Regions from separate parts of the Homo sapiens genome. Here regions 2 and 3 are each linked to region 1. The links are contacts of gene promoters, found by promoter capture Hi-C in blood cells and fetal thymus (Javierre and others, 2016). All regions are on one chromosome and are shown on one strand. The core of a region is centred on a gene start or on the middle of the fragment in contact, and the rest is flanking DNA. Distances in the headings are between cores, read along the strand shown. Region 1 holds the start of SNRPB2 (small nuclear ribonucleoprotein polypeptide B2). Region 2 overlaps CRNKL1 (crooked neck pre-mRNA splicing factor 1). Region 3 has its middle 2.4 kb from the start of TASP1.

Region 1 (3,171 bases), core at 500-2,999:
GCACTTACCTTCCTTTTTAATTTTGTCATTCATATTGTTGATATAAATTGTATGATTTGGTCTGATATCCATGTTTGTGTTAAATTCTTCAGGAGACAGTAAAAAATCTGTTATAAAAAGGAAGGAGTAAATTATACTGGACTGTGGCATAAGGACACAACACAAGAATTATTAACTTTTCATTTCTCTTTCAATCCCAGTTGTCAGAAAATGTCAGTTTGGCTGTAGCCTTTATTGTATCTCCAGCACCTACTAGCCCTCCTTTTCATACAGAAGAAGAACAGTTTCTCACATTCAAAACTTGGAGCACCAATACCTAGCCAGATTTTAGTAACACCATTTAATTCAACACATTTATTTTTACACTTACGTTTCACTTATGACACGTGACATTTTCTTTCCACCTCCTCAATGAAATAATTTTAAAATGTAGATTTGAAGAAAAATGACCAAAGTAGCAAATGTACATCCAGTAAAAATCATAAGGTTAGACATTAATGAAGTTTGCCAACTACTTAATGGGTGCACTTACAAAGTCCTTCCATACCTATTAATTTGTATACAGCATCACCAAGCTGTCTGGACTCCAAGGTTATCTCTAACCGACTTGAAAGAAAGGAGCTCAATGACAGCAGTGTGGCATGACGATTAAACTCAGATTCCAGTATCAGCCAGATGTGAATTCAAATCCTATTTATGCTTCTTACTAGCTGTTTGCCTGAGGGAAGTTCCTTAACCTCTCAGGTCCTCATCAGTAAAATAAGAATGGTAACAGAACCTACCCAATAGAACTCAGAAGACTAAATGAATTCTAGCACAGTTCTGCATCAGCGGTAAACACTTAAGAGTAGCTATTATTAACAGCTATTACCAGGTAAGGAACTTGCCTAAGGTCACACAGCTAATAAGCATCAGGCCTGGAAATTCAGCCCTTGCTTTCTCCTCTACACTTGTCTTCCTCATATACCACACTATTGCATTTTTTACATGGTTTTTACTTGCAAATTGTGAACTTGGATGATTTCCTTGTGTGCCCCACATATTCCTTTATCTCACAGTATTTACAGAGCATCCACTGTATGTGAACTGCATTGGATGATTGACAAGGGAAGAGCCTACAAGCAGGGGCTGCACTTGTGCAGGTAACAGGTAAAACGTAACGCTTCTCAAAGCCTTGCGACCCCCTAAATCGAAATCTGGAGAAGGGGCAGGGGTCGCAAAGGAGACGACGAAAGGGAAGTGACTGAGGCAGAGGTCAAAGTGAAGGTAGGGGGACAAAGGGGAGGCTCTTGCAGGGTTTCATGCGAGGTTTGATCGTGGGCTGCGTTGTTACAGGGACACCCTGAATTACCCGCCACCACCAAAAGGGAGCCGCTGGAAGACACCTGAAAGCGCAGTGAACTGTCCACGCCTCGCACGAGCAGACTGACATTAACTATCCTTTACTTCGTACGCGCAAGCCTCCCGCCTCTCCAGACACAAGCACCTTCGCCCAAGGCCCCCTAACGAAGTCCAAGGGAGCTGCCACGCGATGCCCGGCCCCAGAGTCAGTCTCCTCACCCCCAAGCCTGCCCCTCCGAGATCCAAACCCGGGCCAAACGCGTACCCACCCCAGCTTCGCGCTTCGTCCGCTCCCAGCTGCAACAGGGGAGAAAAGGGCCGAGGAGCCAGGAAAACCGAAACAGCGAGGTAGAAGGCGCACGAACCCACCTAAGGCCTACGCCGACTACTGTAAGAACCAAAAGCAGGAAACGGAGCCAGGCACCGGAAGCAACGTAGCCACGCTCCTCAATCGAGCGCCGACAAGTCTAGAAGCCGAGCACAGAGCCGATCGATGCTTCCGGGTCTCTGGCAGCCAGGGCTGGCAATCTCTCTGCGCGTGCGTCTGCCCTGCGGGCAGGAGAAGAGTCCGGAAATGGAAATGGGGAAAGAGAAGGGGGTTGTGAGGACCATGCTGCGAGGGAATAGTGAAGGGGAGTGAATCATTTCCCCTACCACGACCTTGCGAAGCTTTACCCGGCGCAACAGTGCCTTCCACCTTTACAAATCCTATGTAATTTTACAGGCGCTGCCCCTCATGCTATGGGGCAGTTAGTCCTGGTTTCGCCCTTCTTTGGGCTCTAGCTACCCCGGTTTAAAATCACCTTTAGGATAGCCAGTTCCTCCTGCCTCCGAGTCTCCTCTGATTCATGGGGCTCTGCAGGAACTGTCCTCCAACACTGTGCTGATGAACTTGAATCTCAGAGGCTACTCAGTTTGAGGGCCCAGGGCAGACAGAACTGGTGTCTGCCCAATTCTCATCTCTCACCAGATAAGGCAACCATGCTGACTAGAACCCAGTCATCTGTAAGATCATCTGCCTCAATTCACTCGAAAAAATAATTCCCTACCACCCTTCCCACTCTTTTCTTCCAACAAAAGGTCTAGATTTTTCTAGGGTATTCTAAGGAGTTAGTATTTATGCCAAGCTGAATGGGAGTTCCCAAAGTGCATGCATTCATTCATCCATCCATTCATCAGATGTCTGTAAAGCATCACCTGGAATATGAAATGGTTGTTAAGAGTCAACTGGAACCTAATCTTGTACCCTCTGCTTAACTAATCTCTCTGACCTTCACTTTTTTCATCTGTAAAATAGGGATCCTAATAGTACCTCCTTCTAGTTGTTGTAAGCATTAAATGAGCTAAAATAAATGTAAAGTGATTGGCACATTGTCAGACACAATAAATGCTCAAAAATGTTATTTCTGAATTCTGGCTATAACTTGGTTCTACTGGTGAGGCAGGTAGCTGTCAAATAAGTTGGTTTTATCAGCTGGGAATTTTTATTTTTTAAAAACACCCAAAGTTGCAACAACTTGAAAATAATATAAGCTTTTTAAGGGTGGGGTTTTTGTCTGCTCTGTTCACTCAAGTACCCTTAGTAATGGGAAAAGTGACTGATAATTAATATGCATTGGATAATTCAATGAATGACATGGAAAACTAGGCAACAGTAAAACAAATATGCTTTGAACATGCACCTGAGTGTAGAGAATGTTAAGGGATCACAGAAAAGCATCGTTTTATTATATAGATCTAAAACTAGAAGAAATGGCTGAGTGTAGTAGCTCACACCTGTAATCCTAGCATTTGGGGAGGCTGAGACAGGAGGACTGGTTGAGTCCAGGA
Region 2 (3,171 bases), core at 1-2,500, 3.3 Mb before region 1:
ACGAGCGTGCTTTAGATGTAGACTACCGAAATATTACACTCTGGCTGAAATACGCAGAAATGGAAATGAAGAATCGCCAAGTCAACCATGCTCGAAATATCTGGGACCGGGCCATAACAACGCTGCCTCGAGTTAATCAGTTCTGGTAAGTTTCTGATCTAACAAAACAGCCTTTTATAGACTAGCAAAGTTCCACATCTTCTGTATTTATTTTATTTACATGATGATAGTTTAATTTGATATCCTACTTTTTCTTCAGACATAAATGCTGTTATGTCCCATAGTCTATTAAGTCATAATCGTAATGTTCTATAGCTATGTAATCAAAACTAAAATTTTGATTGCAATCTTTTATTCATAAGCTTCTTGTTGAACTAGGCAACTTTTAAGAAAAAAAAATCTTTTTTTCCAATGGTTCATCCTTTTTCAGATTTACATACAAATGACAAAACATGTTTGATTTAACCTTTAAGAAAGGTAAAATCTTCAATCTTCTTCCCATTCAACAATGGAAGAACTAAACCACAGCAGATATTTTCGGGTGATTTTGTTACAGGTACAAGTACACGTACATGGAGGAAATGTTGGGAAACGTTGCCGGTGCCCGGCAGGTGTTTGAGCGCTGGATGGAGTGGCAGCCTGAGGAGCAAGCCTGGCACTCCTACATCAACTTTGAGCTGAGATACAAAGAGGTGGATCGGGCCCGCACCATTTATGAGCGATATATCCTTTGGACGAGATCTGTATGGTGCCATGATTGTCCTGGATGCTGCTGCTGCTCCTGTAGAGATGTCTCATGATCAGGACACACAGTCATTAATGTCAGGCTCAAAGTCAAGAATGCCAGTTTATCAGCTTCCCTATGTTTTGTAGGGAAAGAGATTGGTCAGAATGAAAATTTGTATTCTGGGTAACTAGTCTTTTCTAGTGAGAGTTTGGGTTTATTTTATTGTAATGCTAAAAGCTAATGTTTCCTTGTGGAAAATGATATTCCTGGGGGATTGTTTCCAGGAACTCAAGGGGATACCAAAATCGGTGATGCTTAAGTCCCTCATATAAAATGATGTAGTATTTGCATGTAACCTATGCATAGCCTCCCATATAATTCAAATAATCTCTAGATTACTTATACCTAATGCAATGTAAATGTTATATAAATAATTGTTATTCTGTATATTTTAAGGAATAATAAGCAAAAAAACGACATGTTCAATACAGAAGCACTTTTTTCTCACGAATACTTTATCTCAGGTTGGTTGAATCCACAGATATGGAACCCATGGCTGGAGGACTAACTGTACTAAGGTCCTGGCTGCCATTGCCAGTCCTGTTTTTCTAAGGTTTGTGTTGGTCATTACTACCTTACTGGAGTTCATCCAAGGTTTACTGTTTACTAGCTGTGTGGCTCCAGAGAGTCATTTAACTCCTTTGAGAGTTGGTGTCCTCTTCTTAAAAACAAGAATAAAAACACCTTTGTTGGGCTGTTGCGAAGATTAAATGATACACATGAAAGCACTTTTAGAAACTGAAGTACAGTCATTCCTCACTATTTGCAGATTCCATGTTTGCAAAATCACGTATTTGCTAAAATTTATTTGTAACCCCCAAAATCAGTAATTGTGGCACTTTCACAGTCATTTGTGGACATGCACAGAGCATGAAGTCCAACAAGGTGAGGCTTGCCTTCTGGTCTTAACCTCATATAACCATGCCTAGAGCTTGGAGACAGGAAGGGCCAGTGCCATGTAGTGCAAGGAGCTGTGGCTCTGGGGCCAGTCGGGGAGTTTGAATCCCTGTCAGTGGGGCAGCCTCAGTCCAGTCACTTAACATTTCTGAACCACTTTTCTTACAAAATAATGAAGATAGAATCTGCCAGGATGAGTTCTTTTTAGGATTTAAGATGATGATGAATGTGAGATTGTATATATACACGTTTCTCCTAGGAGCAGTGGTTCAGTACTCAATAATTAAGTGTTCGCATTGACTAAATAGAACATAACTACCAGAAATAATGAGAGTCAACTTTATTATGCAGTATTAAGATCTTTTTATTTTTTTACTCTTCTCTGTTGAGGTGACAATGTTAAGATCTTAATTATGTCTACTAATTTTAATATTATTAGTTTGACGAAAGCTTTTATAGCACTTGCTACGTGCCAGGCAGTATTCTAAGTACTTTACAGATATTGTTGTTTAATCCTCATAACATCCTTGCAGTGTAGGAACTTCTCTGTCCTACAGATGAGGGAGCTGAGGCATGAGAGATTAAGTAGCTTGACTGGGTTCTCACAGGTGCTGATGGAAATAGAATGTGAACCTAGTAGAGCAGCTTCAGAACTGATGCTCTTCTTTGCCATATTGGAATATATTACTACTTTGGAAATTAATGATTTATTCAAGGAAGATAGATTAAAATGACAATTCAAAACTTTCTGCTTTGACTCTAGTTAACAGTTTTCTTTTTATAGCATGTTTTTTTCTTAATTATTAGTTCAAGTATTCATATTTTAATATAATTGGTGCTATTTAATGACCAGACCATTATTGACCGCTTACGGTGCCATGTTCTTTTGGCTAGAAACTGTGCTAAGGGCTTTACATACATTTTCTCATTTAAAGCTGGCAGTAATCCAGTGAGGCTGGCATTATTTTTCCCTGTTTACAAATGAAACAGCTGAGACTTAGACGTCTAAGTTCAGTGACTTATCCAAGATCACATGGTTGGTAACCTGGGTTGAGATTTTTCTTTGCTTCCAACTCGAGTTTATACCCACCACTAAAATCTTAACTAAGCACTGGAGGAAAATAGAGATGAACAGGCGTGGCCCTGCTCTCACAGAAGCCACTGTTTAATTCTACACTTTTGTATGTGTTTTGTTCCCCTAGAGTTGTAGTTTGAATTTTTGGAGTTTCCAGGCTTTGGTATGGTTTTGGTGTTTACTTACTTACTATTTTTTTAAGCCATGCTGTTTTGCCTGGGATTTCCTTAATTCCCTTGCACTTGTCCTCGTGCACCCTGATGTTAAGAACTGGATCAAGTATGCCCGCTTTGAAGAAAAACATGCTTATTTTGCCCATGCACGGAAAGTGTATGAGAGAGCTGTGGAATTCTTTGGAGATGAACATATGGATGAGCACCTTTATGTTGCCTTTGCCAAGTTTGAAGAAAAT
Region 3 (3,171 bases), core at 227-2,726, 3.1 Mb after region 1:
GGTAGTGTGATTGCAATTTAAAATAAGGTGGTTAGGAAAAAGTGATTGAGAAGCTGACACTGGTTCTGGTTCAGCAAATTGTATTTCATGTTTATAACAAGCTTATGAGAATGGGGGGACACTCTTTACATGTTACAATAAAAAAGCTAAGAGATTGCAGAGAAAGGTGTTAAATCACAAACTGGTCAGACAGTTTGTTGTGCAGGAAGAATATTTATATTGCCCTATGAATGGGGGATGACAACATAGCTGGCCAGATAATTGACAGACAACAAGGATGAAACCAGAGATGGCAGGTGGGCCACCTTTCATCTTACCAGTCTTCGTCAGGGCTCCGAAGACAATGTGTTGTCATCAGGGCTTGACATGGGAGTCAAGTAATCTCTGGATTATTTGTCTTGCTCAAAATTTTATATATTAAAGAAGATAAAAGGAATTTGTTGGAAGGATAGGGAGTACCTAAGATAATTGAAAGAAAAACTAAGGAAGCAGGTTTTGGAAAAATACAAGCTCTGGAGCAGTAACAGGGAACTCTGTAACCTTGGTTGAATAAACAACTGCTTTTACTCTTTGCATTATTGCTGTCAATTTTCAAATTCCAGGCAAGAAGCAGCTTTAGCTTAGCATGGGTCAGTTGATCATCCCACGGAGCATCCTGATGGACAGTCCCACTTACGCTGGGTGCAAGTGGTGAAGGGCAGTCCCTGGAAGTGAAGTGGGGTGCTGTTAGGAGAAATAAGAAGGAATTCATGCTGGGCAGGCGAAACAACTGTTGTCTACCATAGGACTGCTTGAAGGGTTGTCGCAGTCCATCTATAATTGAAACTTTCTTTTTTCCACGTGGTAGGCAAAATTCTAAGATGACCTGCAAGATTTCTACCCCTGGTGCACAGACCCTGTATGATCCTCTCCCCTGGAGTGTGGATGGAAGCTGAGAATATGATGGCCATCCCTCCTGAAACTTGACGACGAATCATTGACTCTGTGTTCATCAAAGGAGAGATTATCCTGGGGGACCTGACCTAATCAGTTGAGTCCTTTCAAGGTGGAAAAGTCAGAGAGGACTGCTCCTCCTGACCTTGAAGAAGACAAAAGTGGCCAGCTCTACAGCTGCAAGGATTTGAATTCTGCCAATCACCTGAATGAGCTTGGAGAATCGCTCTGGGCATCCGATGAGATGGCAGCTCTGACTGACACCTTGATTTCAGCCTTCTGAGATCTGAGCAGAGACCTGGACACCTGATCCACAGAAACGGAAATATTACATTTGTGTTGTCTTAAGCAGGTGAATTGGTGTTAACTTGCGGCACAACAATTGAAAACTATCACTATTGTTCTGCTACATTTCTGACACATGTGTTAAAGCAATAGTTTTCCAGGAATACAAAACAAAGGGAGACCCCCAGGGAACCAGGACAGAGGGGGCTTACTTAGAGTACAAAGATCAAGATGCAGCAGACATGATTATTTGAGATAAAGGAAGTAATTCCTCAGCTTGCTGCTTTTCCGGGTTTGGGAGAGGTGGGAACAGGAAGAGGGAGGCAACCAGATTTTTTCTGAAGGAGATTTACTAGTATAGACTTTCCTTTCAAATTTAACATGTTGAGTTAATCAAATAGATATTACAACTGTTCGTTATTAATATTTCAAAGGATCTCATTGTTACTGTACCCAATGCAGGTTAAAAATGTTAAAACTTGGGTCTGGGCTGGGCATGGTGGTTCATGCCTGTAATCCCAGCACTTTGGGAGGCCGAGATGGGTGGATCACCTAAGGTCAGGAGCTCGAGACCAGCCTGGCCAGCATGACAAAACCCCATCTTTACTAAAAAGACAAAAATTAGCCGGGCGTGGTCACGGGCACCTGTAATCCCAGCCACTGGGGAGGCTGAGGCAGGAGAATCACTTGAACCGGGGAGGCAGAGGTTGCAGTGAGCTGAGATCGCACCACTGCATTCTAGCCTGGGCAACAGAGTGAGACTCTGCCTCAATAATAATAATAAAAAAAAGGGTCCGAAGAATTTTGTTACTTTTACTTGAGCAGTATTCACCTACCAGAGGATGGCCTGTGTGGCATCTGGGTGTGATACCCAAGACAAAAGTATACAGAGCAGCACTGGGAGATGATTATTACAATGTAGTTAAATTCCAGGAAGAATGTTGCCTAAGAAATGGAAGGGAGCATGTCTATGTCTTTTTAAAACTTTAACATCTTTCTTTTATTCCTGCTGGTTCCAGTTAATATTGCTGTGTAAAAATCCACTTTAAAGGTGCAAAAGAACAACTATTTTATTATGCTGATGGATTCTGCGGGTGAGGAATTCAGAAAGGTCACAATGGGGATGGTTTATGTCTGCTTCCTAATGCCTGGGCCAAACTTTCTGGCACTATATAACAAGGGCCCCATTTTCTCCAGCTTCCAATAACATCTTCCTTAGCTCCCTTTAAGCCCTCATTGGCAGCTTCCTCAAGTCCTTTTAGACTCTTGTTAATACTTTGGATCCCTTCCTGCTCTTGCTGCTTCACCTAGTTCCAAAGCCAGTGCCACACGTTTTACTTTTATGATGTTATTATGTTATGTTTTGTTATAATATCCATCCTACTTCTAGGTAACAAAATCGGTTTCAGTTACTATTGCTATGTAATAAACTGTTATTCTTACTATGTAATAAACTTCTTCCCCTTGCCCCTCCCTAAGAAGTCAGTGGTAGAAGAGAAAGAAAAAAAGCCCCAAGTTACATAATAAAACCACATAGGTTATATTTATAATAATGGTATCAGTGGTTCTCGAACTTTTTGGTTTCAGCATACCTTTATACTCCCCAAAATAGTAGAGAACACTCCAAAGCTTTTGTTTCTGTGGGTTACATCTATTAATATTTACTATATTAAAAATTGAATACAAAGCTGAAATGTGGCTGGGTGCGGTGGCTCACGCCAGTAATCCCAGAACTTTGGGAGGCCAAGGCAGTAGGATCACCTGAGGTCAGGAGTTCGAGACCAGCATGGCAAACATGGTGAAAACCCGTCTCTACTAAAAATACAAAAAATTAGTCGGGTGTGTATCGAGCGCCTGTAATCCCAGCTACTCAGGAGTCTGAGGCAGGAGAATCGCTTGAGCCCGGGAGGCAGAGGTTGCAGTGAGCCGAGATCGTGCCATTGCACTCCAGCC

What was found. Contacts are between HindIII fragments. The CHiCAGO score rates a contact against its expected background, and 5 or more counts as called.
Region 2: a fragment that was not itself captured here is called in contact with the fragment with the promoter of SNRPB2 in region 1 in 5 of 17 cell types (activated CD4 T cells, naive CD8 T cells, non-activated CD4 T cells and 2 more); the score reaches 9.1 in activated CD4 T cells.
Region 3: a fragment that was not itself captured here is called in contact with the fragment with the promoter of SNRPB2 in region 1 in 7 of 17 cell types (activated CD4 T cells, non-activated CD4 T cells, total CD4 T cells and 4 more); the score reaches 10.2 in activated CD4 T cells.

Annotation. Positions count from the first base shown.
Region 1 is chr20:16,728,604-16,731,774 of GRCh38, reverse strand. SNRPB2 (small nuclear ribonucleoprotein polypeptide B2) reads right to left here and starts at 1,749. Exons shown (of 7, transcript NM_003092.5): 1 at 1,611-1,749; 2 at 9-107. The coding sequence starts at 72. RefSeq lists a silencer at 1,292-1,341 and enhancers at 1,492-1,611, 1,662-1,711, 1,770-2,638. The HindIII fragment of the contact is 9,448 bases long and covers 1-2,012 here.
Region 2 is chr20:20,045,317-20,048,487 of GRCh38, reverse strand. It overlaps CRNKL1 (crooked neck pre-mRNA splicing factor 1), which reads left to right. Exons shown (of 14, transcript NM_001278628.2): 4 at 1-145; 5 at 557-723; 6 at 3,002-3,171. Among named protein-coding and RNA genes, the nearest start is that of CRNKL1, 5.6 kb to the left of the region's middle. The HindIII fragment of the contact is 1,772 bases long and covers 365-2,136 here.
Region 3 is chr20:13,639,734-13,642,904 of GRCh38, reverse strand. No RefSeq gene overlaps it. Among named protein-coding and RNA genes, the nearest start is that of TASP1, 2.4 kb to the right of the region's middle. The HindIII fragment of the contact is 2,746 bases long and covers 104-2,849 here.